Linked DNA regions of Homo sapiens: all the other regions are linked to region 7. The links are contacts of gene promoters, found by promoter capture Hi-C in blood cells and fetal thymus (Javierre and others, 2016). All regions are on one chromosome and are shown on one strand. The core of a region is centred on a gene start or on the middle of the fragment in contact, and the rest is flanking DNA. Distances in the headings are between cores, read along the strand shown.

Region 1 (2,700 bases), core at 22-2,521, 3.5 Mb before region 7:
CGTGCAACTTTCCCCTTATGTTTTCTTCTAGTAGTTTTACAGTTTCAGGTCTTACATTTAAATCTTGAATCCTTTTCGTGTTAAATTTTTTTATATGGTAAAGGATGAGGGTCTAATTTCATTCTGCATGTGGATATCCAGTTGTCCCAAAATGATTTATTGAGACTGTTATTCTTAACATCTGTGAAAAGTATGTTTCTGTAACTGTCTTTTCTGTGTTCTTAACATCTTTCTCAAAAATCAATTGACTTTAAATGCATGGATTTATTTCTGGGCTCTTTATTCTGTTTCCTTGGTCTATGGCTGTTTTGATTACTGTAGCTTTGTGGTAGATTTTCAAATCAGAGAGTGTGATCTCTCTGGCTTTGTTTTTTTGGCTTAATATTGCATTGCCTGTTCAGGGTCTTTTGTGGTTCAGTATGAATTTTAGGATTTTTTTTTCTATTACTGTGAAAATATTATTGGAAAATTGATAGGGATTGCATTGAGTCTGTAGATTGCTTTGAGTGGTGTCAACCTTGTAACAACATTCATGTTTCCAATCCATGAACACACGTTATCTTTCCATTTATTTGTGTCTTCTTCAATTTTTTTCATCAATGTGTTATAGTTTTCAGTGTACAGATCTTTCACCTCACTGGTTAAATTTACCCCTATGTATTTTTTTTGTAGCTATTGTAAATGAGATTTTTTTTCTTTTTTTTCAGATAGTTTACTTTTAGTGTATAGAAATGCTACTGATTTTTGTATGTTGATTTTATATCCTGCAGCTTTACCAAAGTAGTTTGTTAGTTCTAACAATTTTTTGGTGGAATTTTTTATAAGATTTTCAATATATAAGAGCATGCCATCTGCGAACAGAAACAATTTCATTTCCTTTTTTCCAATTTCAATGCCTTTTATTTTTCCCTCTTGTCTAATTACTATAGCTAGGACTTCTAGTACTATGTTGAATAGAAGGGGTAAGAGTGAATATCCTTGTCTTGTCCCTCATCTTAGAGGAAAAACTTTCAGTTTTCACCATTGCGTATGATGCTAGCTGTGGGCTTGTCATAAATGGCCTTCATTGTGTTGAGCTAGATTCTTTCTATACCTAATTTGTTGAGAGTTTTTATCATCAAAGGATGTTGAATTTTGTCAAATGCCTTTGTTCCATCTATTGAGATGATCATACGGTTTTTGTCTTTCATTCTGTTAATGTGATGTATCACCTTTACTGATTTGCATATGTTGAACCATCCTTGTATCCCAGGGATAAATCTGACTTGATCCTGGTGAATGACCTTTTTAATGCGCTGTTGTATTCAGCTTGCCAGTATTTTGTAGAGGATTTTTGCTTCTATGTTCACTGGGGATATTGACCTTTGATTTTCTTTTCTTGTAGTGGATTTGTCTGGCTTTGGAATCAGGATAATGCTGGCCTCCTAAATTGAGTTCGAAAGTTTCCCCTCCTCTTCAGTATTTTGGAAGAGTTTGAGAAGGATTTGTATTAGTTCTTCTTTAAATGTTTGGTAGAATTCAGTAGTGAAGGCATCAAGTCCTGGGGGTTTTGTTTAGTGGGAGACTTAACTACTGATTTGATCTCTCTACTTATTATTGGTCTGTTCAGATTACCTATTTCTTTATGATTTAGTCTTGATAGGTTGTATGTGTCTAGGAACTTATCCATTCTAGGTTATCCAATCTGTTGGCATATAATTGGTCATAGCAATCTCTTATGAGCCTTCATATTTCTTTTGTTTTAATTGTAAAGTCATGTTTATTGGAGTATGAACTTATATGCAGTAAAATTTACCATTAAGTATGAGATTGGACAAATGCATAATCATACCATAATCAAGATGTAGAATAGTTGTAGAACAAGATATAGAATCACTCCAAAAATTCCCTCATGCTCCTTTGCAGTCACCCCTTTTTTATCCCTAGGAATGCATTGTTCTGTTTTCTGTCAAAAGGGCCAAATTTAATCACTGCAATGGTCTCCAGTACTGTGGAAAAATTCCTGAGCATACAAAACACACAAACCAAGTTTTTAAAAAATGAGATACTTTTAAAAATGTCTTTAGCATATCAACCAAATGAAGGTAGCTTCATATTTTACTACAGATGCTCAGATATCTTAGGCAGAATTAAGTCCACCATTGCCATATATATGCCTCAACAGTAATATTTAAGAGTAGACTGTAAAAATAAACTTACAATCTTTAGAATCGTCAAAACAATGGGATTATTAAATGACCTTTGTAAGTTAAAGCAAAGTTTATAAAGTTGTCTTACATAGTTGTGAAATAGCTAGTCTAGTTAGATAGAATTAACGTCTCCTAAAACTGACCTGCTTGAAGAACTACTGTAGGTCATGTCTTTGTAGGTAGAGTATGTGAACGAAGATTAAGTACTTGCTCTTTTGTGTTAACACTGTGTCAAGTTTCAGACTGGGGCTGGTTGATAGAAAAACTAGTTAAAAAAAACTATTTTAAATAATGGAATTGAATTTTATGGAAATTCTCTGTGGCACCAACTCAACCACAGGACAGAAACAAAAAATTCTCATCTAAACATTCCTGTAGAAAATTGGGACCATCTAAAAATTCACCCCAGCTACCACCATGAAAGAAACAAAGAAAGCAAAAACTTCTGTTCTGAATATATCAGTGGTCCCATATTCAGATACTTCTTATCTACTTGAAAAGCTTTGATGGG
Region 2 (2,700 bases), core at 42-2,541, 3.5 Mb before region 7:
TGAGAAATGGTTAAAATCTGTCAGTGTCTAATAATTTTTTAGAAATTTTACTGTCTATGGAATCTAAAAATCTGGAAACTACTGACATATAAAATTAAAATAACTCATCAGAATGTCATTTCAATATCTAGCCCAACAGACCCATTGAAGCTAATTCTACCCTTCAAAAATCCTCTTCTCTAGTCAAGCCAGTATCTTTGCCAAGTTCATACCATGACTTTGATTCCCCTGAACCCTTCTTCTGAACTGACTTTCCTCATCATACCTCCTCTACAGCCTTCTCTTCCTTTATCTAAAATCTATCTAATATCACAAAGCCTTTCCTTACCACTCTATCCTACATTCATCCTTCTCTCATCTGAACACCTCTAACCCTTAATCTACGGCTTAAATCCAAACGCTAGTTTGGCTCAAGCTACCTAAGTAAGAATCACTTTGTGGAAATTTTTTAAAGGCAGTTTCCAGTATCCCGGTGCAGATTGGAAGAATTTCCAGGATTGGGGTACAAGAGCCAGTAGTTTTTAAAAGTTTAGGGAATGAAAAAAGTCTTATTAAATAAAAATAATTTGACCACAATAATAATAGTTACATGTTTATCCTAAATCTTCCTATTAAACATCAAATATGCATGTCCCGTGTATAACCATACATAAGAGCTTAATTTTGAAATAATTCATTTCAAATTCTATCATAACATTCTGACACAGATACACAGAGGCATTTGTGAAAATGGTGTATTATCACAGAAGGGCACATAATGTAAAGAAATTAATATTCTTAAGCTTAAGTTTATTCAAATGGGCAGCAATGAAATTTTGCTTTAAAAAAACAAGTTAACCCAAATATAGTTTACCAACCTGTTTGTTGTTCTCCGCCATAGAAAGCTGCAATGCCAAGAGCATGGAGTCTGCACCACATAGAGTAGTTCTCTCAGAGTTACAAAGAGCACGCCAATTTTTTCGAAACTCTTTAATCATATCCGAGACAGACTTCTGATTAAACACAGCCATTATCTTAAAGTAGGACAGAATACAAAGTTAAAGTATCTTATGTTAACCTGAAATTAACATTTAACATGTATAGGCAAGCACAGATAGAGAAAAACATATAGTGAATGAGAGGTCATTTCATATTTACCAAGATTGCTTTTAATTAAATTTAGGAAAACAAAATAATACAATTTCTGCGCAATCATATTTCCCTCCCCTTTGGTTTCTTAAGCCAAACCTTCTGAAAGAACAAAATGTAGCCTTCAATTCTGAAAATTCACACAAAAACAGACATGCAAATTTACTGCAAACTTATAATTACAAATATACCTAATTAAAGCTGTATTTAAATATATATATTTGTTTTGAGATAGGTAATAAGTCTGATAAATTGGGAAAAAAAAAAAAAAACCTAAAAAGCCAATTTCCTCCCATCCTACGTTGTCCCAAAAGAGGTGGCCTATTTTTCTACCCTTTTGAATCTGGACCAGGCTTGTGACTTGATTTAACCAATAGAATGTGGCAAGAATGACGCTGTGGGAGTTCTGAGCTTAGGCCTTAAGTGGTGTGTGCAGAAGTACTAATACAATAGGCCTGAATGCTCTCCTTTGAAGCTGGAGTCCAGTTTGGGAGCTTAGATTTCAGGAGTGTTTCCAGTAAGAGTGGTTCACTGTGCTAAACTGTTCATACAAACAATATAGTTTATGCTAAACACTTGCGAGTCTGGAATTTTGGTACATGTCAGACAGTGGATGCCTTTGCATTTAGCCCCCAATAAAAACCCTGGGCATTAAGTCTCTAATAAGCTTCCCTGGTAGACATTTCACATGTGTTGTCACCACCTATTACAACAGGAGGAATTGTGTCCTGTATGACCACTAGAGTATCACCAAGCAGTGTCCCACCCAAACTGCTGATCCACAGAATCAGAAGGAAATGGTTATTTTAAAACCTTAACTTTTGAAATGGTTTGTTACACCGTACTACATAACCAATAAAATAACTAATATTTAGGAGCTAACTTGGTGGAGATACTTTTCAAAAGCTTAATATTGATTACCTCACTCGACTGTCATAAGTGTCCAATAAGACAGGTCTGTTATTATCCTTATTTTACCTAATAACCTCCACGTCACTCAGCTTGTAAGTGGACAAACAGCATAAACTTAATATGTCTAACTCTATAAGCTGTGTTCTTAAAGCATCATGTTAAGTAACTTCTCCTGATGCACACAAAAGCCTTTCAAAATAATTTGAGGTAGTGCCAATGTTTCATATACCCAAGACTATATAAGGCATCCAATTCCTTTCTCTGAGTTTACAGACATGCCTGCTAAAAGTTTTTTTCCTACTTTAAGTACTCAAGTCTCAACATACTCACATGCCCATCATCTTATTTTGGGTATTTTCCTGTACTTATTCCATTTCCTGACTCCTTCTGCTATCCTTTTCTTCTATTTTTATGTGGCATAAACAGAATCCTAGATGTTTACTTTGGTTTGTATAATCAAGAGCAAAGATACATGCCACTTGCAATATAATTAAATTATAGACACAATCTATGATGCAACTTAAAGATACAGGTAGAAGATTAGAGATTAATTATTTACATAAATGCAAATCCTAGTAAATAGCTAAGAATTGTATTTCTCTTCAAAAAATCACCCTCATCTCTTGAAAGAAAAAAGAAAGTGAAGAACTGTCAGCTTCA
Region 3 (2,700 bases), core at 1-2,500, 3.6 Mb after region 7:
CGCCCACCAGAGCCAATTATTTTTAGATGAGGAAACTGAAATTCCCAAAGGGGGAATCCCCGTGTGAGAAAGCCTCGTGTAGGTGAGCTTTCCAGCATATGCCCGCCTTCTAGATTTAACCTCTGAAAACTAAATTTTAAGGTACCTTTGCTTCCAGGGGAAACCAATTCTGCCTACTTGGGAAGCCAGAACATGACCGCGTAGGCAAGACCTAGCTCTGCGCACGCGCAGAGCCACCACGTCTGGCGTTCGCGTGAGAACCTTCTGGGCGTGGGCTTCCTGCGGCTGAGTGGCAGCTTCCATCCGGTGGGTTTTGCTCGGCGCACCCGGGAGGCGGGGCCAGCGAGGCAAGATGGAGTTAGTGCAGGTCCTGAAACGCGGGCTGCAGCAGATCACCGGCCACGGCGGTCTCCGAGGCTATCTACGGGTTTTTTTCAGGTAGGCGGCCAGAGCCATGCTCTTGGCCTCTGGGGCTGGACTTTCGCTGGCTGATTTCTTGGAAGGGGTCCCAGGCTCGGGTCACCTTGGAGAATCCACAGCTCTTGTCAAGGACAACCGCCCCAATCTCTGCCTTGCCACCCCCAGGCTGGTCTCTGTCCCATATATCCCCGATACAAGACCGAAGCTATCTGTAGAGTCAGAGCTGTGACTCGGAGGCAAGGGCATCTGGGCTCCCCTCTTTTCCCACGCCCTGGAGAGTAATGAGGATTACAAGACATTAACTCAGTGACCCTGGTAAAGTTTTTTTCCCTGCACTGCCGTACAGTTCCTTGTCTGTAAGGCGTTGAAGGTAATAATGATGGTCCCTTCTCTTCCTGACATTCACTGATCCCACGAGCAGCATAGTTTCGCAGAAACCTAAATGGAGACCCAGAGTGGAATGAAAGAGCCTGGAGACCTTCGTATCATTGTAAGAAGATGAAATACTTTGGCTTTTTGATTTCCTAAAGGTTTTGCTAATTCCAGTGCCTCCTGGCTGAGGGATAGTAGATACAAGTAGTCCTGTAATCTGAAGAGACTACATTTATATTTTTAGTGTAATTTGAGCACATCAGTTGTCAATTCATCTTTTCCCATCCCCAGCACTTCTTCATTTTGCTAGTTGATGCAGCAGCCCTTGTGTCTGAAAGTTGTTACTCTCACTTTATTTCCGTTTATGTTTTGAACTAAGAATCATTCTAAAATGTCTGTTTTCTTTTGGGTATTCACAGGACAAATGATGCGAAGGTTGGTACATTAGTGGGGGAAGACAAATATGGAAACAAATACTATGAAGACAACAAGCAATTTTTTGGTGAGTGCAGTATTTTTTAGTATGAATAATTGGATTGGGATTGGGATTTGATTTGAGTCTATTTTCCATATTATGCAATGAGCTTTTACAAAACACCTGGAAAAGGATGAAAAACTCAATAGAAAATGAAAAAAGATAATTTACAGAAAAAAGAAAAGTAAACAGCCAATGAAGGTATGGAAAAATGCTCATTCTCACTTGTAACAACAGAAATGCAACTTTAAAAACAGTGTTATATATTTTTCACCTATCAAATTTTGAAGTGTTTTTGTTCTTTTTTTTTTTTTTTTTTTTTTTTTTTGAGATGGAGTCTCTGTCGGCCAGGCTGGAGTGCAGTAGCGCGATCTCGGCTCACTGCAACCTCCACCTCCTGGGTTCCAGCGATTCTCCTGCCTCAGCCTGCCTGAGTAGTTGGGACCACAGGCGGGCGCCACCATGGCCGGCTAATTTTTGTATTTTTTAGTAGAGATGGGGTTTCACCATATTGGCCAGGCTGGTCTTGAACTCCTGACCTCGTGATCCACCCGCCTTGGCCCCCCAAAGTGCTGGGATTACAGGCGTGAGCCACTGCGTCCAGCCTTGAGTATTTTTCAAGCTGATAAATCCCAATGTGGGCAAAACCATATAAATATGTAGGTTAATGCAGTCTTTTTGGAGGGATAATTTGGTAACATTTGTAAAAATTTACATTGCACATATCCTTTGTCTCAGCACTTCCACTTTTAACAATTAATTCGGCTGGGCGCGGTGGCTCACGCCTGTAATCCCAGCACTTTGGGAGGCGGAGGCGGGCGGATCACGAGGTCAGGAGATCGAGAGCATCCTGCCCAACGTGGTGAAACCCAGTCGCTACTAAAAATACAAAAATTAGCTGGATGTGGTGGCGTGTGCCTGTAATCCCAGCTACCTGAGAGGCTGAAGCAGGAGAATCGCTTGAACCAGGGAGTCGGAAGTTGCAGTGAGCCCAGATCCCGCCACTCTACTCCAGTCTGGCAACAGAGCGAGACTCTTATCTCAAAAAAGAATTAATTCTACAAATATTCTTGCAAACCAACATACATCACAGCATTGTTTTATTATATTTTAAAAATTTATTTATTTATTTAATGTTGAGACAGGGTCTCGCTCTGTCACCCAGTCTAGAGTGCAGTGACTCGATCATGGCTCACTACAGCCTCAACTTTCTGGGCTCAAGCTGTCCTCCTACCTCAGCCACCCAAGTAGCTGGGATTACAGGCATGTGTCACCATGCCTGGCTAATTGTTTAAAAAAATTTTTTTTTGGAGAGACGAGGTCTTGCTATGTTTCTTAGGCTGGTCTTGAATTCCTGGGCTCAGGTGATCCTCCCACCTCAGCCTCCCAAAGTGCTGGAATTACAGATGTGAGTCACTGTGCCTGGCCACAGC
Region 4 (2,701 bases), core at 80-2,579, 3.6 Mb after region 7:
AGAAGATAAAAGTTAATTTAACAACGTTTGTGCAGATTTCCCTTGACCTCAATTTCCTGTCCTTGATGTAGAATGATAGTTTCCTTCTGGTATAGGGAGGATATCTTTGATGTGGGAATTTTTTCTCCTGCTTTCAGAAAGAAAAAGGCCATATTATTCTTGTGCCTGCTGTTTTTCTTTACCTTTTTTTTTTTTTTTTTTTTTTTTTGAGACAATGTCCTGCCCTGTCACCCAGGCTGGAGTGCAGTGGTACAGTCTGCAGCCTCGACCTCCTGGGCTCAAATGATCCTCCTATCTCAGCCTCCCAAGTAGGTGGGATTACAGGCATGTGCCACTACACCTGGCGAATTTTTGTATTTTAAGTAGAGACGGGGTTTCATCATGTTGGCCAGGCTGGTCTTGAACTCCTGGCCTCAAGTGATCTGCCTACCTTGGCCTCCCAAAGTGCTGAGATTACAGGCATGAGCCACCACACCCAGCCGTGCCTGCTGTTGTTCAAGTGCCTTTAACTCAGCATAGTCCATATGCCAGAGCTGCATATTTTGGAGCAGCGTGTTCTGAACTTCAGCCACTCAGGTTTCGTCAGTTGTCCCAACAGTGTCCTTTATAGAGAGATCCAATCACACATTTCATATGGATCTCAAGTTCTTTAGTCTCCTTCACACTTGATTGGTTCCTCAACTTTTCTGTGATTTTCATGACCTTGACGCTTTTGAAAATTACTTGACAGTTATATTGTTGAAGGTCCCTCAGTGAGTTTGTTGAATGTTTCCTCATGACTAGGTTCAGGCTATGCTTCTGTGACATTCCTGTCACTGAAGCCATGTTTTTCTTGTTGCACTCTATTAAGTAGCAGCTGATTTGTTTTTGTCCTATTATTAATGAAAACCTCTATCACGTGATTAAGGGGTCTGCCGGTTTTCTCCATTCTAAAGTTACTAATTTTCCCTTTGAAATTAATTAGCATTTTGTGGGGAGACACTTTGAGGTTATGTAAGTATCCCCTTACTCATCAAAGCTTTAATTCATTATTTGTATCTGTATCAACTCCTATTTTAATCAATGGGTTATAATCCATTGCTTTAAATGGTTCTTTTATTGTTCAAATTGGGCTCAATTTGACTAGTTGGAACCCATTCAAGCTGCATTTGGAGTTCTTTGGAGGTTTTTAGAGGGGAGGGGTTCTCAGTTTTTAAAAATATTTTATTTGAGATAGGGTCTCACTCTGTCGCCCAGGCTGAGTGCACTGGTGCTTTCACAGCTCACTCCAGCCTCAACCTCCTGGGCTTAAGCCATCCTCCTGCCTCAGCCTCCCAAGTAGCTGGGACTACAGGGGTGCATCACCACAACCTGCTGGTTTTTTTTTAGGAGATAGGGGTCTCACAGTGTTGCCCAGGCTAAAATTTTATTTTTAATTGACAAATAATAATTGTATATATTTGTGGGGTACAATATGATGTTTTGATACATGTTTACATTGTGGAATGATTAAATCAAGCCAATTAGTAAATCAATTACCTCACATACTTATCATTTTTTTGTGGTAAAAACACTTAAAATTATTTTAGCAATTTCCAAATATACAGTGAATTATTATTTATTACAGTCACCATTCTGTGCAGTAGAGCACTAAAGCTTAGTCCTCCTAACTGAAATTTTGTACTCTTTTATCAACATCTCCTCTTTCTTATACTCTCCACTCCTCCTGCCCGTGGTAACCACCATTCTACTCTGCTTGTTTTTCTTTTTTTTTCTTTTGAAGACAGGGTCTTGTTCTGTCTCCCAGGCTGGAGTTCAGTGGCACATTAATAGCCCACTACAGCTTCAATATGCTGTGCTCAAGCGATCTTCCCAACTCAGCCTCCTGAGTAGCTGAGACTAGCTTATTTATTTATTTATTTATTTATTTATTTAGAGACAGAGTTATGCTCTTGTCGCCCAGACTGGGATGCAGTGACGTGATCCCAGCTCACCGCAACCTCTGCCTCCCGGGTTCAAGCGATTCTCCTGCCTCAGCCTCCTGAGTAGCTAGGATTACAGGTGCACACCACCATGCCCAGCTAACTTTTGTATTTTTAGTAGAGACGGGGTTTCACCATATTGGCCAGGCTGGTCTCAAATTCCTGACCTCAGGTGATCTGTCCACCTCGGCCTCCCAGAGTGCTGGGATTACAGGTGTGAGCCACTGTGCCTGGCCTATTTTTATTTTTAGTAGAAGTGAGCTCTTGCTATGTTGCACAGTCTGATCTGGTTTCCCTGATGATTAGTGACAATGAGCATTTTTTTCATATAGCTGTTGACCATTTGTATGTCTTCTGAGAAATGTCTGGGTACTTTGTCCCTGCCAACCGCTTTTTTTTTTTTTTTTTTTTTGAGATGGAGTCTTGTTCTGTCTCCCAGGCTGGAGTGCAGTGGCGTGATCTCAGCTCACTGCAAGCTCCACCTCCCAGGTTCACGTCATTCTCCTGCCTCAGCCTCCTGAGTAGCTGGGACTACAGGCGCTGACCACCATGCCCAGCTAAATTTTTTGTATTTTTTTAGTAGAGACGAGGTTTCACCATGTTAGCCAGGATTGTGTTGATCTCCTGACCTCGTGATCCACCCACCTCGGCCTCCCAACGTGCTGGGATTACAGGCGTGAGCCACTGCGCCCGGCCTACCAACCACTTTTTTTAAAGATAGGGTCTCGCTATGTTGCCCA
Region 5 (2,700 bases), core at 75-2,574, 4.9 Mb after region 7:
AAACTGTAATACCCAGTGTTGGAGGTGGGGCCTGTTGGGAAGTGATTGGATCATGGGGGTGGAATTCCCCCATGCTGCTGTTCTCATGATAGTGAGTGAGTTATCACGAGATTTGGTTGTTTAAAAGTGTGTGGCACCTACCCCACACCCCTTGCTTCTGCTCAGGCCACATAAGATGTGCCTCTTTCCCCTTCGCCTTCTGCCATGATTGTAAGTTTCCTGAGGCCTCCCCAGAAGCTGAGCAGATGCCAGCATCATGCTTCCTTAGCAGCCTGTGCAACTGTGAGCCAATTAAACCTCTTTTCTTTATGCGTTACCCAGTCTCAGGTGTTTCTTTATAGCAGTGCAAGAACTCCTAGTGGCCTAAGAACATCAGATATGTGGAAGGAAAAGGAAACATACTCTTCTTTAAACTTTTGAGTGGTTTGTACTCCATCCCTAATTTAGACCGCTTTTTCTTGGGGCAGAAAATTAATTTTCCATTTTTTAGTCTCTACCCGACTCATCTGGTACTATGCACACAGCATGTGCTCAGTAAATGTTTGACCAACAACATGACTGTGCTATTGATTTCCTTTTACATACAGTGCCTAGCAGTAGGCAGTCAAAAATGTGGGTCAAAGAATGACTAGTGTATTACAATCCGACTTATTTCTGATTCCCATTCATGTATACTAAAGAATGTGAAAAGGCCAGAATTTCCTATCAATTTATTTCCATGTGGGTAATTCTATGAGGACTGTATTTTATTACTGTAAGCTTTTGTTATGAGTCATAGATACCTGAAAATGTAAGAATATACCAGGAACCTCTTCTCTTTTTTAACTCCCATTGTCGAGAAGTGAGAGTGTGCTCTTTCCCCTAACCATTCTCATCCCGCCCACTCCATTAAATATTATCTAAAGGCAAAAATCCCCCAAATGTTTCGCTATGACCTTGTGTATCCAGTTGTCTACTTGACACCTCCACTGGAGTTCAATAGGCACTTCAAACTTAATCTTTCCCAAACCAGACTCCTGATCCTCTCACTCCCAATTTACTCTACTCAGCCTGCTCCACTTCTGTAAATGGTACCACCATCCACTCAAGTCAAAGACTTCAGGGCTCCTCCTTAATTCCTCTCTGTCCCTCACACCTACTGTCCGACCCATCAATAAGTACTATTGCTCTTCCTCTACATCATCCCCTAACCCATTCGCCTCTCTCCATCCTAACCACCTCTACTCTCTTCTACATCATATCTTGCTTGGACCCCGGAACTTTGCTTCATCTTTTCATCCATAGAGAGGCCTTCCTTGAACACCCAATCTAAAATTGCTCCCCAGAGTCTATCACATTGCCTAATTTCATGTTTTTCTTAGCATTTATCATTACCAGTTAATTTTCTTATTTGTTTGTTTTTTTATTGGGAAGGAGGATATTTTCTGTCACTCCCCATTAAAATGCACGTCCATAAGAGTAGGGACTCTTAATGTCTTGTTTGCTTCTGCATTTCCAGTGTTTATTTATAATAGAGTTTGACACATAATAGGTGCTCAATAAATAGTCATTGAATTAAGAAATTAATGAATCAATTAGTGAATAAGCCTAATGTGTATTTGAACGTGAAAGATGAGCAGAATGCAGAACAACACAGTTTTTATGTAAGTAATAGATTCATTGAGACTAAATTTAAATTATCCAATTTCCTTTGACAGCTCCCACCCTAATATTTTTTAGTTAACAATCATTGAACATTTATTACATGCCAGAAACTGGACATTTTTTCACATATTAGCTCACTGAATTTAATTCCATCCTTGTACAGCCTTATAAAGTAACTATAACTAGTTAAGTGGCAAAGCCAGGATTCAAATAAAAGTCAGGCTTATTCCAGAGTCCCAAGCTTTTTATTACCATATTAATATGAATGTTCCTTTCAGATTGGCCAGATTCCCTAGAACACTCATCCAGCAAAGTAAGGTCAGGGCAGCTTAGCCTCAATGTAGAGCCCCATGGCTCTCCCCTAAAAGGCTGCAGCATTTGTGTGGTTTCCTTTGAGAGCACATGGACATCAAAGCTTGGCTATACAAGAGCATTCTTCCCATGACGCATATGCTGTGAGCACAGCAAGACATTAGCCAAAACAGCATTTCTTCAGTTAGTTAATTAATAAATATCTGAGTGTCCTGCTGAACCTGTACAATGATTATTACACATTTTCTAAGATTCAGGCCTCCAAAGTTGATACTTGACAAAATTTTCTTTTTACATACAGAAGGATTGGGTTCTTGTAAGGATCAAGTGAGCTAGTATATATGATATCTCTTTGAAAAAAATACAAACTATTACATAGAATGTGCACCATAATATAATCACAGAATTCTGGAAATGGAAAAGAACTAAGAAATGGCACCTAATTTTATGAAAGGGAACAGTGAGGCACAGAGAGGTAAAGTGACTTGTGGTTGAGGGGCTAGTAGCCTATAGAATGAAATTACATTGTTTACCAAATTCAATTTTCTTTCTTTTTTTTTTTTTGTTTGAGACGGATTCTTGCTCTGTTGCCCAGGCTGGAATGCAATGGCACAATCTCAGCTCACTGAAACCTCCGCCTCCCTGGTTGAAGCAATTCTCCCACCTCAGCCTCCCAAGTAGCTGGGACTACAGGTATGCACCACCACGCCTGGCTGATTTTTTTTTTTTTTTTTTTTTTAGTAG
Region 6 (2,700 bases), core at 84-2,583, 4.1 Mb after region 7:
GATCCGCCCACCTCGGCCTCCCAAAGTGCTGGGATTACAGGTGTGAGCCACCGCACCAGGCCAGAATGCTTTAAATTATAAGTGTCACACAGGACTCTCCTGAGAGTTGCAAATGGTTTTGAGTTGTCCTTTGGTTATTTAGGACAGAGTATGCTGGGTATTCCCCTTACTTTGAGTGTTTTCTTTCCAGATCAGATGAAGTGCGCGGACTGTATTTAGAACATTCTCAAATAATAGTGAAATACAATTTAGAATTCCATGCAGCACTGGGAGAATGAAACACTGATTATTCACAGGTAGTTTTTTTTTTTTTCTTTTTTTGAGACAGAGTTTCATTCTTGTCGCTCAGGCTGGAGTGCAGTGGTGGGATCTCAGCTCACTGCAACTTCCGCCTCCCAGTTTCAAGTGATTCTCTCCTCTCAGCCTCCCGAGTAGCTGGGGTTACAGGTGCATGCCACCATGCCCTGCTAATTTTTGTATTTTTAGTAGAGATGGGGTTTCACCATATTGCCCAGGCTGGTCACGAACTCCTGACTTCAGGCGATCTGCCCACCTTGACCTCCCAAAGTGCTGGGATTACAGGTGTGAGCCAGCGTGCCTGGCCTATTCACAGGTAGTTTTTAATCCTTGGTTTACCAGTCACCTCACTGTCTCCTCTTATTGAACCCTTAATGATAAAATTTTTATGGCAAGTTGTTAGTTTTTAGAGCACTTTTTGAATGATCTTTTCAATCAATAACCTTTCAAGTAAGCAAGTATGTGAGAAAATTTGAGACATGATGAGACTAAATGACTTCTTTGAAATCTATTAATAATGGGAATTGGAACTTGAAGTTTAATGTTCTTTATGTCAGATACCCTTATGTATTGCTAAAATCCATGGACTTAATTTTAGTTCTCTCCTCCTTTTTTCTATATGCTGATGTTGAAGTAATGAAATATTCAAAAGTTGGGCAAGATGGAGGAGACAAATCAAGAATGACTCGTATAATCCTTAGTAATCAGAAATCAGCATTATGTCATGGGATGTTCTAATTCAAGAAGCTTAGAGTGAAATCTTAACAGAAAGATTAGTGAATTTTAGTGAATTGTCAGAATTTCCCCACCCCCAGGTACTGTCTCTTTGCCTAAAAGTAGATGAGCTTGCTTTTAATTTTGTCATACATATTAGGTTCCATAAGTAAATTGCCCACATTGTTTAACCTATGTGCTTTTAGGGAATGTGTGTAAATCTGTGTAAAAAACTTCCTTTTAACCCAAGTTCATGTTTCTTGACTTAAGGTGAATTATTTGAAATCCTCTCACCTTGCCTTTTCAAGTGTATGTTCTTTATGGAAAAGGTGTCTCTGCCCAGATTGGTTTCTTCACTATCCCCTAAACCTGCTCTGTACTTTATCCTTTCCATATTAGTCTGCATATCTTTCTATCCCCCGTGACCTGATCTTATTCCCTTCTTTCTTAAAATCTAAATTGTACCTTTTCTATAAGGTTCAACTCCACCATGACCTCATACATACATACATAGGAATAGTATGTATTTGTGAGTTAAATTTATTTGATACTTATACTTTTTATTGTATTATTTTAGCTTTCTTGACTTCCTAACTAGATTGTAAGCTTATTAAGGGCAGGACTTCAGATCTCGATGAGCTGTATCCTTAGTCTTTTCCAAATACAAGTTGCTGAATAAATGTTTCTTAAAGATGACTGATATGATTAGGCTTTGTGTCCCCACCCAAATCTCACCTTGAATTATAATCCCCATAATCCCCATGTGTCAGGGAAGAGACCAGGTGGAGGGAATTGGATCATGGCGGCGGTTTCCCCCATACTGTTCCTCGTGACAGTGAGTTCTCATGAGATCTGGTGGTTTTATAAGTGTTTGGTAGTTCCTCCTGCATTCATTCTCCTTCCTGCTACCTTGTGAAGAAGGTGCCTTGCTTCCCCTTCACCTTCTGCCATGATTGTAAGTTTTCTGACGCCTCTCCAGCCATGTGGAACTGTGAATCAATTAAACCTCTTTCCTTTATAAATTACCCAATCTCAGGCAGTTCTTTATAGCAATATGAAAATGGACTAATACAATGACAGATAGGCATTTCTACTTTCCCCCACTTTTGTAAGTATCATGAAAGTAAGGTTGTTGAGAGAAGAGAGTAAGTGAAGGGGAAATGGCAACAGTAAACTATAAAAAAGATTGAAGAGTGGGAATTCACGGAATCAGAAATAAAGATTCTGTTCCTAGAAAGTGAGTATTTGAGAATTTCCCATGGCAATACCAGCAGTAAGGACTCTCAGGAATGCTGGCACTATTCTTCAGTGGGCTTGGGGAGTTTGGTCAATTTCCTGGTTCCTAGTAGAATATCAGTTTATTAATTATATTTTTTTCATCAGGACTGCCCTCTCTAGGTCATGGAGAGATCACTGACTGTCAAGTCTAGTACTATTTCTTTTTTCTTTTTTTTTTTTTTGAGATGGAGTTTTGCTCTGTCGCCCAGGCTGGAGCGTAGTGGTGCAATCTTTGTTCACTGCAACCTTGAACTCGTGGGTTCACGTGATTCTCCTGCCTCAGCCTCCCAAGTGGCTGGGGCTAACAGGTGCATGCCACCACACCTGGCTTTTTTTTTGTATTTTGAATAGAGACAGGGTTTCACCACATTGGCCAGGCTGGTCTCGGAACTCCTGGCCTCAAGTGATTCA
Region 7 (2,700 bases), core at 170-2,669:
AAAGATCACTCGACATGTAAAAGGCTTGCAAACAACTTCAAAGTTTATCCCAGCCACTAACCAATACTATCCCCACTTAAGAACTCCTGTAACATAAAAACGGATACGCACAAATTCCTGCAGTCAAATACATTTAATACACAAATAATGTTAGCTTTAACTTTTAAACTGAACGACAGATAGTGTAAATAAGGACTCTATCCATACTAAAGACAACAGAAGCACATGAATGATTTAAAGAAAAAAATCTTTCGATTTTACAGGCACAAGGTAGATAACATTCTTAGGACTCCTACAATTCGGTTTTCAGGTTTCTCTGTATGTACATACTTCACTAGGATTTAAAACACACACAACTAAGTTAAAGCTGGGCCCAACCACCAAGAATCCCAAGAGATAATCACACCAAAGGGACGCCCACCAATTATCTCCTTTCTATTGCCTATGTAGGGCTGCAAGCTGCCTCCTCCAGTCGCACGAAAACAGGACATCTAGTTATCTCATATACAATTAAGTGCAAAAATGACTGACCTGGCGTCGACAAATATAAAACTTAGGAAAGGACTATTTTTAAGAAAACTAAGGGCAAATCAAAGGACAGGTAATATAGTTAGTAGAACTGTGGGTGGTCAGTAGTTTCGGGAGGAGAGTTTACCCAGTACTTAGTTTGCTGACCAAGCGAGCTCACGGCGGAGAAAGAGCTAGTCACGGCCTCTCTTCCCTCGGGCACACGGAGGTCACGAAGGGACACAGGGCCTCAGCGCTTCCACGCCCTTGAGGGAAGGCCAAGGATCTGACACCCGCCTATGGTGGAAAAGGCCGATACCCCAGGGCAAGCAACTGGGCGCCGTCCTACGGTGCAGCGGGCTGGACTCGTCCTTCCCTGTCCTCCAAGCCGGGTCCAGGCCTCAAAGGCTGGGCGGCCCACAAGTAGACCACACGACTGTATTGGGCAGGGTCTGATCTCACCTTCCACGGCGGCGGCTGCCAGGTTGCGAGGGCGGCGGGGCTGGCCCGTGGGCCCTGGGGAGCTGCTGCGGAGGTCCCCGAGACCATCGTGCACCAGCTGCAGATGTGGCGTGTTGAAGGGGTTCGCCCGCGCCAGGTGCGCCACGGACGAGAACATCTTTCTAGGGGAGGAGGGAGCGACGGTTAGAGGACAGGCAAGGCGCCGGTTAACGTTACCGGCGCCCTGGAACCCCAACCGGGGCCTTTTCCTTCCCGTCTCCACGCCCTTGAAGAGGTCACGGCGGCCTTCGAAAGAGGCTGCTCCCGGCTGGGCCCACCGCCAAAGCAGCGGCCCCACAGGAGCTCTGGGCTCCGCTCCCCACACCCGCCACAGGAGAAGGCCCGGCCACACTCACTCCCTAAGATGGCGATCACACAACCACTCCCTTGGAAAGGTTGCGGCTCACAGAGGCCGGACGTCCTCCGGGTCCTAAGATGTGTGCCCTTCGCGCGTCGTCGGCGTGACGCACACAGCGCGCCACTGCAAGTACGCGTCGCCCATTGGTGGAGAAGAGCGCCGAGCCCGTAGCGTCATCGCGTTCTCCTAGCAACCTTATTCCCGCCCCTGCCCGCCCCAGCTCTTCCGCCCGGCTTGTGCGCGGGAGGATTCGTTCTGCGCAGGCGCGCGTTCCGGGTCTATATTTTTTGAGAGGGGTCGGGCTCGAGCTCTTACCCTGCTCGCTTTGTCCCTTCACCTTCAGGTGTCTCTCCTTGACCACGGGCTTCAGTTCGCTTCACTTAAGTGAATCACAGTATCTAGTAGTCACTTAAAAAACAAAACAAAACGCGAATGCTTGATAATATATTTAGGTGTTGGAGTTACAACATCACTGCAGTACTTTGTGTCACAACTTCTGCCATTACAGTACTTTTTAAAATAAGTTCCATCCATTGACATTAAACATAGGTATGTCTGTATTTTTCATCAGACTCCTGGAGAATATTTTAAAAAGAAATGTGCAGCAAGAAGTCTTACGACAGCTTGCCGCGTTATCACAGTAATCTACAGAACACGTTGAAACATTGAACTCCTGAGATGTTACAGCGATGAACTACTGAAAGTGACTGATAGCAGATTGTGCGTGTGTGTGGTTAATACATTTAGGAAGCTTTCATTAGATTCAGCTCAACAGGGAGGGGCGTAGTTTAGTTGGGGAGAGTTTAATAGGGATTCAACCTGTTAGACTTCTGACTCTTATATTTTCCAAGCTCTTGACAAAGTAACCTTGGGAATTTACTTCATCTCTGTGTACCTGTTCCCTAGATGTAAGATAGGGGTGGGACTGGCCTCATAGGTTCACACTGGTACAGTCACACATGGCCTTACACTTCATTTAATGCTCTGCTGTCATTTTGATTTTTTTTTTTTTTCTTTTGAGATGGAGTCTTGCTCTGTCGCCCAGGCTGGAGTGCAGTGGGGCGATCTCAGCTCACCGCAACCTCCGCCTCCCGGGTTCAAGCGATTCTCCTGTCTCAGCCCCCGGAGTAGCTGGGACTACAGGCGTGCACAACCACGCCCGGCTAAGTTTTCTATTTTTAGTAGAGACAGAGTTTCGTCACGTTGGCCAGTCTGGTCTCGAACTCCTGAGCTCAGGTGATCCGCCCACCTCGGCCTCCCAATGTGCTGGGATTACAGGCCTGAGCCACCATGCCCGGCTTGAAATTCTTAATACATGTATGAACAAGGGGCCA

The links. Contacts are between HindIII fragments. The CHiCAGO score rates a contact against its expected background, and 5 or more counts as called.
Region 1: a contact is called between a fragment that was not itself captured here and the fragment with the promoter of SLC25A3 in region 7, in 3 of 17 cell types (naive CD8 T cells, total CD4 T cells and activated CD4 T cells). The highest score is 10.0, in naive CD8 T cells.
Region 2: a contact is called between a fragment that was not itself captured here and the fragment with the promoter of SLC25A3 in region 7, in 2 of 17 cell types (non-activated CD4 T cells and naive CD8 T cells). The highest score is 8.5, in non-activated CD4 T cells.
Region 3: a fragment that was not itself captured here is called in contact with the fragment with the promoter of SLC25A3 in region 7 in 3 of 17 cell types (naive CD8 T cells, non-activated CD4 T cells and activated CD4 T cells); the score reaches 7.4 in naive CD8 T cells.
Region 4: a fragment that was not itself captured here is called in contact with the fragment with the promoter of SLC25A3 in region 7 in 1 of 17 cell types (total CD4 T cells); the score reaches 8.7 in total CD4 T cells.
Region 5: a contact is called between a fragment that was not itself captured here and the fragment with the promoter of SLC25A3 in region 7, in 1 of 17 cell types (non-activated CD4 T cells). The highest score is 9.6, in non-activated CD4 T cells.
Region 6: a contact is called between a fragment that was not itself captured here and the fragment with the promoter of SLC25A3 in region 7, in 2 of 17 cell types (non-activated CD4 T cells and naive CD8 T cells). The highest score is 9.2, in non-activated CD4 T cells.

What each region holds. Positions count from the first base shown.
Region 1 is chr12:102,055,641-102,058,340 of GRCh38, reverse strand. The region is part of intron 2 of WASHC3 (WASH complex subunit 3); the gene reads left to right. Among named protein-coding and RNA genes, the nearest start is that of WASHC3, 5.0 kb to the left of the region's middle. The HindIII fragment of the contact is 2,843 bases long and covers 1-2,692 here.
Region 2 is chr12:102,122,199-102,124,898 of GRCh38, reverse strand. It overlaps PARPBP (PARP1 binding protein), which reads right to left. Exons shown (of 11, transcript NM_017915.5): 2 at 858-1,013. The coding sequence starts at 1,010. Among named protein-coding and RNA genes, the nearest start is that of PARPBP, 3.4 kb to the right of the region's middle. The HindIII fragment of the contact is 1,013 bases long and covers 785-1,797 here.
Region 3 is chr12:95,001,333-95,004,032 of GRCh38, reverse strand. NDUFA12 (NADH:ubiquinone oxidoreductase subunit A12) reads left to right here and starts at 336. Exons shown (of 4, transcript NM_018838.5): 1 at 336-438; 2 at 1,212-1,294. The coding sequence starts at 353. RefSeq lists enhancers at 214-613, 78-705. The HindIII fragment of the contact is 6,573 bases long and covers 1-2,700 here.
Region 4 is chr12:94,985,299-94,987,999 of GRCh38, reverse strand. The region is part of intron 3 of NDUFA12 (NADH:ubiquinone oxidoreductase subunit A12); the gene reads left to right. Among named protein-coding and RNA genes, the nearest start is that of NDUFA12, 17 kb to the left of the region's middle. The HindIII fragment of the contact is 617 bases long and covers 1,021-1,637 here.
Region 5 is chr12:93,667,176-93,669,875 of GRCh38, reverse strand. No RefSeq gene overlaps it. Among named protein-coding and RNA genes, the nearest start is that of CRADD, 8.8 kb to the left of the region's middle. The HindIII fragment of the contact is 1,126 bases long and covers 762-1,887 here.
Region 6 is chr12:94,455,819-94,458,518 of GRCh38, reverse strand. The region is part of intron 1 of CEP83 (centrosomal protein 83); the gene reads left to right. Among named protein-coding and RNA genes, the nearest start is that of CEP83, 2.7 kb to the left of the region's middle. RefSeq lists a silencer at 2,575-2,700. The HindIII fragment of the contact is 573 bases long and covers 1,047-1,619 here.
Region 7 is chr12:98,592,405-98,595,104 of GRCh38, reverse strand. It overlaps SLC25A3 (solute carrier family 25 member 3), which reads right to left and starts at 1,419. Exons shown (of 8, transcript NM_002635.4): 1 at 1,365-1,419; 2 at 970-1,130. The coding sequence starts at 1,126. RefSeq lists enhancers at 380-1,004, 1,328-1,427, 1,005-1,629, 1,678-1,897. The HindIII fragment of the contact is 3,126 bases long and covers 1-2,119 here.